2 separate regions of the Homo sapiens genome follow, and region 1 is linked to region 2. The links are contacts of gene promoters, found by promoter capture Hi-C in human tissues and cell types (Jung and others, 2019). All regions are on one chromosome and are shown on one strand. The core of a region is centred on a gene start or on the middle of the fragment in contact, and the rest is flanking DNA. Distances in the headings are between cores, read along the strand shown. Region 1 overlaps LOC107985089 (a long non-coding RNA gene). Region 2 holds the start of MGAT5B (alpha-1,6-mannosylglycoprotein 6-beta-N-acetylglucosaminyltransferase B).

Region 1 (3,728 bases), core at 627-3,126, 41 kb after region 2:
TTTTTGGGAGAGACAGAGTCTCACTATGTTGCTCAGGCTGGTCTTGAACTCATGGCCTCAAGTGATCCTCCCTTCTCAGGCTCCCAAACTGCTGGGAATACAGGTGTGAGCAACCATGCCCAGCCTGTTTTCAGGTTTCTGAAGCTAAGAAGCTCAGTTTGTCTGACTTACCTACGATGACTCTCTCTCCCTCTTCTACATAAAAAACAGCCTATTTCGGAGAAAATTTAGTGCCAGCCAAAGGGGTATCTACCTTGCTTACTGTGGGACATTACTTCTATTCCAATTCAAGCTTTTAAGAATAATTTTTATTTTAATATCTTGAACGTATGAGAAGAATCCATCCATAAAATAGACTGCTCGATATTTCATTACACTCAGATCCCAGCCGAAGTACCCTGCTGGCTGCCTGCCTTCCCTCGGCCAGGAGGGTGCAGGTGTCCCCATGGAGAGAGGCAGCCTGGACTCCTTGGCTCTGCCCAGATCCAATGCCAATACCCTGTGCCAGGCCCCGCTAGCTTCAAAGATTCCCTCCACACCCCTGACATGTCCTACTGACTCATCCTCTTGCTGCAGGATACACATAAGCATCCATCTTCCTGAAAGTCATTTATTAAAAGAGAGTCTATCTTAGAAAGAGCTCTAGGCTGGGCACGGTGGCTCACGCCTGTAATCCCAGCACTTTGAGAGGCCAACGTGGGTGGATCACGAGGTCAGGAGTTCGAGATCAGCCTGGTCAAGATGGTGAAACCCCATCTCTACTAAAAATACAAAAATTAGCCAGGTGCAGTGGCAGGTGCCTGTAATCCCAGCTATTCGGGAGGCTGAGGCAGGAGAATCGCTTGAACCCAGGAGGCAGAGGTTGCAATGAGCCGAGATCGCACCACTGCACTCTAGCCTGGGCGACAGAGCAAGACTCCGTCTCAGAAAAAAAAAAAAGAAAGAAAAGAAAGAGCTCTAGTGCCCCAGGAAAGGCCTGCTGGGGTGCATGCTCAGGTATGTGTAACTGAGCTCGCCTTGGCTAAACTCCAGTCGCAGAGGCAGCTTGGAAATTGGCCCAAGGGGAAGGGAGAGTGAGTAAGAAGACACTGGGGCCGGAGCAGGGTGGACCTGTGGCCTGGAAAGAGAAACGGGATGAGCACGGCATGGCACGGCACGGCACGGCACGGCAAAGGGCCCATGCAGATGAGGCGTCTCCAGTCAAGGTGGCCCAAGAGAAAAATTATCTGTGGGGACTGATCAAGAACCACCCACGTTGGGAGGCTGAGGTGGGCAGATTGCTTGAGCTCAGGAGTTCAAGACCAGCCTGGGCAACATGGTGAAACCTCATCTGTACTAAAAGTTGTTAAAATTAGCTGGGCATGGTGGCACGCACCTGTGGTCTCAGCTACTGGGGAGGCTGAGGTGAGAGGATCACCTGAGCCCGGGGAGGTCAAGGTTGCAGTGAGCCAAGATCATGCCACTGTACTCCAGCCTGGGCAACAGAGTGAGATCCTATCTCAAAAAAATAAAAATAAAAAGAGCCACCACGTGGGGAAGGGACAGCCAACCTCATCTGAAGAACCAGTGTCAGGACTGAGGGGTCATCCAGAAGGCTCAGACCAGCACCCTCAGCCCTTCCCACTAGCACAAGGGACCAAAGGTGGATGGGATCATTGGCCAAGAGCTTGGTCAGCCCCGTTCCAGTGGCACCCTCATACACAGCACACAGAGGCACCCACAAATACCCACACAAGGGCCAGGCGGGCATGGAACACACACTCTGACACTCCACAGTCAGATACAAGAACAGCCCACAAGCACCACTGGGACACCTAGGGGCCCCTTGCTCAGCCCAGACCTGCCATCAGGCATGGAGAGGCCACTGCCCCGACCAGAGGCAGGATGGAAACCGAGTCTCCTGAGGCCTCCCTGCGGAGTGCAGGCCCTCGTCAGTGGAAAAAAGGAAGGAAGAGGAGGCTCCTACTTCTCTGCAGGAGAACTTTCTAGAGGGTTATTCCGCTGGCCTCTCCCGTGCAGGGCATTTCCAATTCTCTGTGACTTCCGGATATGCAAGGATTCAAAGCCACAGAACTGATCAGCTTCACCGCACCCCCTACATGCACGCCCCAGCCCCGGGAGCGTGCCTTCCACTTCCGGTGCTCCACCAGAGGAGAGGCCACAGCACTCCTGTAACAAGACGCCACAGTGATGGTTCCATCTCCTGGAAGCTGGTGAATAATTCAGGAGAAATACTTACTCCCGTTTTAATTAATCCACATGCAATTTCAGCAGCAGAAATGCACCATCACTCCGGCCAGGAAGCAGCAGGTACAGGCATCTTATTACTCGGCATTTGATAGCCCGGCTCTCACTTGGTTGTTAACAGCCTTCACAAGAAGAAACCTCAATCTGCACCGAAATGATGAGACCGGTGCAGAGGGAGACATCCCGGAGCCTGGACGCCTTCAGGCCTCGTTTCCTCCCCAGCCCATCCTCAGCGCAGAGTGGGGGAGAGAAGTCCTGCTTGCCTCATGTTGGACAGCAGCCGCCCTTGCATGTGGAAGTTACACACACTCACTCACAGGGACCAGCGCAGGGAGAAACAGAATTGGCTACCTCCACCTCAATGCTCCCCTTCCGCTCACGGGCACCTGCCACTGCTCTGTCCAGTCCTGCCCTCCACGGTGCCTTGAGGGCCTGTGTGGTACAGCCGAGTACACCAGGACCCAGCGAAGAGGTGCCTCCCTCAACACTGTCACATAGCTACGAAGGGGTCAAACTGAGACCCCAGGTCTGTTCACTGCTGGTGCTCGACCCCCAGTGGGTCCATGGATGCTAAACTGGGGAGGGTCATGAGGCTGAGGGAGGGAATCCCTCCGCCAACTCCCACTACACAAAACACAGGAAAGAGACAGAGGATGCCGAGTCCAGGAAGAGAGACTCCATGTACCTACCAGGGGGCTGTGGGTGCCCCTGGGAAAGCAGGCTGCCTGGCAGATGGCACAGAGTAAAGAGGACAGGGCCCACGGTGGTGACACAAGGAATGTGAATGGCTTTGATAGGCAGTCTGGGAGCTAAGGAAAATTGGATGAATGGAGTTCAAGGGGTCATGGTCTTAAGAAAAATGGTCTTTTGGCTGGGTGTGGTGGCTCATGCCTATAATCCCAGCACTTTGGGAAGCCGAGGTGGGCGGATCACTTGAGTTCAGGAGTTCGAGACCAGCCTGGCCAACATGGCAAAACCCCATCTCTACTAAAAATACAAAAATTAGCTGGGCGTGGTGGTGGGCACCTGTAATCCCAGCTACTCGGGAGGCTGAGGCAGGAGAATCACTTGAACCCAGGAGGCGGAGGAGGTAGTGAGTGGAGATCGAGCCACAGCACTCCAGCCTGGGCAACAGAGCGAGACTCCACCTCAAATTTTAAAAAAATAAAAATGGTCTTTAGTTTGTTAATATGTTCAAGAGGGAAAGCGTTTATAAAGTGAGGCAAAGGTGCTGGAGAGAGGGAGACAGGAGAGAGAGGCTGCCCTAGGACGTTGCAGCCCCACTTGTAGAGAGCCCCTGGAGGGAAGGACAGCTCAGAAACACAGCTGCCACTGCACCCAATGCACACGCACCTCCTCTGCAGTGGGTTGAATAGTGACCCCCAAAAAGCTACATCCACATTCCAGAATCTGTGAATGAGGCCTTACTTGGAAAAACATTATTTGCCGAAGTAATTAAATTAGGGGCCTAGAGATTTAAG
Region 2 (3,357 bases), core at 767-3,266:
GAGCAAGGCCCTTTCCAGAGACGCCTGCTTCCCGCCCTGCTTCCCATGGGCTCCCGACGCCCCCATCACCACCCACGGCCTGCACCAGCTCTCCGGGCCTCCCGGACCCCCGGACCGCAGAGGTCCAGCCTGACCCCTGCCGTCCCCTGGGGTTGCCTCCTCGGCCCAGCAGACAGGCCCGGTGTGCTGGGAGGCGGGCTCCAGGTGAGCCACCGTCTCCCCGCCCCCATCCCCGTCTGGAGCCGGCAGGGGGACCACAGTGGGGCTGGGCCGAGACCTGGAGGGCAAGAGTTCAGGGCCCCTGCAAGCTCCGCCTTCTCGGGCTCCTTCCCGCGCCCGGAGCCCACCTGTGGCCACGTCCCGAGTCCGGCCCCCGCGCCGGGGCGGTCACTCCCCCAGCTTCCTCGCTGCCCAGCTACCCACGGGGTGACACTCGGGCCCCGCCGGGCGTCCACTGGGCAGCGCCCCCTCCCCACCCCGCTGCGGGCCGGTTCCGCGGATGCCTGGGAGGAGAGGGGGCTGCCCCGGCACCGCTGGGCCCTGGGGGCCCCTGGCTGGGTCCAGTGAGTCCCGCGCGGCCCCAGCCCTGCCTGGCCTGGGCCCCCAGGTGTTGGCCGCCCGAAGCGTGTCGCCTTCGCCACCGCCCGCCCACCACGCTCCGCCGCAGCCTCGGCTCCAGCCGCCCCGTAGCCCTGCAGCGCCGCCCCTGCCCCCGCCTCTCCGACGCCTGCGATCGGGGGCGAATCCTGGGATGAGCGAGTCCTCGCTCTAATCTCGGGACCCTCTCGTCGGAGCCAGGCCCGAGCCCCGCGGGGAGGAGAGCAGTGCCACCAAAGGCTGGGGAGAGGGTGGCACAGGCGGAGGGGTTGGGGGGTAGCCGACCTAGGGGCAGACGGGCGGGACGGGAGGGACCGGAGGGGGAGCTCCAAGGCGCCGCACACTAACTTTGCCACCCGGATGGGACCGTCCGCGGGGTGAGGAAGGACCCTGAGGGGCTGGGAAGGGGCGCGCAGGCTGGGGCAACTTTCTGGGCCCAGGACCACGACCTGGGGGTTTTCTGCCCCCATTCTTACCTCTGCACCCCGAGTCCTCTCCAACCCTGCCCAACTCGGGACAGGTCCCCGAATAACACAACCCTCCCCATCCGCACCCCGAACCCCAACGCCATCCGTTCCCCCAGCCCAGCCCCACTGGTCATCACCAGGGGTTGAAGTGTGAACCGCCCCCTCTGCCACCAGGACTTGAACGTTCGCAGGAACCGACCTCGCCCACCTCCACCCGGCGCCCCCCTGGGGAAAAAACCAACCAGGAGGGAACTTTACCGAAAGGGTCTCAGGGTGACCAGGCATCTTCTGACCATTATCTTCCCATCGGGGTTGACGGTGATCATTGTTCAAACTTGTTGGTGCGAGCAGCCGCGGGCGAGGCCGGACGCACCGTCCTGGGCCCAGCTCTCGCCGCGTCCGGGCCACGAACCCTCTGCGGGCCGAAGCCGCGTCCGAGCGAAGCTGGGAGCGCGCGGCCCGGTGGCCTCGCTGCTCAGGCCTGGGCGTGCAGCGGAGGGAGCGGCGCGGCTGCCGGAGGGCGGCGAGGGCGCCCGGCCGGGCCGTCTCTGCGTCTCCGCCCTCCCCGCTTCACATTTTGGGGACCGGGAGGCGGCGCGCCCCCAGACCGCCGGCCGCGCGTCTGCCTGCTCGGGCTCGCTCGCTGGGCGGGAAGGTGCCGCGGCGCGCAGACGGGCTCCCCGCGGCGGGCGCCCTCATCCCCGGCCCCGCGCCCTCGGTGCCGGCTAAAGGCGGCCCCGGGCCCGCGCCCCGGTCCCCAGCGCCTCCGGGCCGCGCCGATCCTCAGCCCCGCGCCGCGCCGCGCCCATGGCTCTCGACGAGGGCAACCCGCGCCCGCCGCGCGCTCTCTCGCCCGCTGGCTCCGCCGCCCGCGCTCTGGTGTCCGGCGTCCGGCCCCGCGCGACGCTACGCCCGGAGGCGCCGCATTGTTCCTCGGAGGAGGCGGCCGAGCGGCGCTGGGGCGGCCCGGGAGCTGCAGCTGCGCTTCCAAGGCGCGCCGGCGCCACCTCGTGGCCGCAGCCCCGCTGTGCGCCCTGCCCGGGGCCGTGCGGGGCTGGGACGCCGAGGACCAGCTTCGAGGACGGGCGGGCGGGGGTCCCTGCTCCTTCCCCTGAGCCAAGCAGCTTCCCAGGGCGCCACCAGCCCCGAGGGCCGAAAGCTGCTTTGGCTCCCGCAGAGCACAGAAGAGATGCGCACCCAGCGGAGACCCTTCTCTTCTGCCAGGTGCCTCCGTGGGCTTCCTCATCAGCCGCTTCCCACGATTTCGCTTGGCAACACATGCCTATCTTCTGCCCCTCCCTGGTCAGAAACTCCCGTGGCTCCTCTTTGCTTACTGATCTGAGTATAAACTCGGCCTGTGGTGCTGGGGCCCGCTCACAGAGCCAGGCGCAGGGGCGTACTGAGTTGTAGCCCCAGATCCTCCACTAGCCAGTGGGCGATCAAGTGTGCACGTCTCAGAGTCTCCATTATGAAATGATAGTGACCAGAAGCTCACCAAGGTCCCTTGCAACCCTAAAGCATGTAGGATCTCATGTCGTCTCTTAGCATCTAGGCGTCCTCCCCTCCCCCTCCTCGTACTTCCTGGCTCTGGAGATGTGTTTGCAGTTGCAGAGACAGAGACTCCTGGGAGCTCGCAGAGCCAGCCTGAAGAAAGCTCTCCGGCTTCAAAAGCACTTCCCGAGGTCATATCTGACCACCCCACCCTGGGAAGTGCCCAAAGCCTCAGTCATGTGTCAAATGACTCTGAGGGTCTTCCCAGCTCAGGCCACGATGCTGCAGCCTGGCTTATGCGAGGAGGAGACTTTATTTTCCTCCAGCTGGGCCTGGTCCCCTCCAATCCCCCATACCCAGGCCCCTTGCTGCCTGCCCTGCCCACCTCCCGGCCCCCTTCCTGGGCCATTACTCACTGGCCATGACTCACGCTCTCTGCTTTGCTGCTCCTTCTTCATCAAAATTTACCGGTGCTGAGTTCCATTATCTCACTGCCTTGCTCTCTGCTAATGTGAAAATGGGTGATAAATTGGTGTTAGCAGATATAATGTGTTACACAGGCTAGGTAACAAATTTGCATTGAACAAGGACATGCTGACCGTGCCTTTGTGCAGAAGAGTGATGAATGGTGGCCGGAAATTTGGGCATCGTGGCAGGCTGGCTAAGGAGATGTTGGAGGGCAGAGGTCTCTGCCAGGCCTGTAAATCACATCTCATGCCTGGGTGCCTACATCTGCCACAAATCCTGGCAATAAGCCATATCTACACTAAGGAATGAAATGGTCCTTCTGATTAGGTGTCTC

The links. The method cuts DNA at HindIII sites, captures the fragments that hold promoters and counts their contacts. A contact is called where the count stands out against the background at its distance.
Region 1: a contact is called between a fragment that was not itself captured here and the fragment with the promoter of MGAT5B in region 2, in 2 of the 25 tissues and cell types used here (pancreas and psoas muscle).

Annotation. Positions count from the first base shown.
Region 1 is chr17:76,825,262-76,828,989 of GRCh38, reverse strand. The region is part of intron 1 of LOC107985089 (a long non-coding RNA gene); the gene reads right to left. Among named protein-coding and RNA genes, the nearest start is that of LINC02080, 28 kb to the right of the region's middle. RefSeq lists an enhancer at 2,240-3,056. The HindIII fragment of the contact is 4,604 bases long and covers 1-3,728 here.
Region 2 is chr17:76,867,063-76,870,419 of GRCh38, reverse strand. It overlaps MGAT5B (alpha-1,6-mannosylglycoprotein 6-beta-N-acetylglucosaminyltransferase B), which reads right to left and starts at 2,016. Exons shown (of 18, transcript NM_001199172.2): 1 at 1,323-2,016. The coding sequence starts at 1,390. RefSeq lists a silencer at 1,872-2,181 and an enhancer at 2,519-2,813. The HindIII fragment of the contact is 29,656 bases long and covers 1-3,357 here.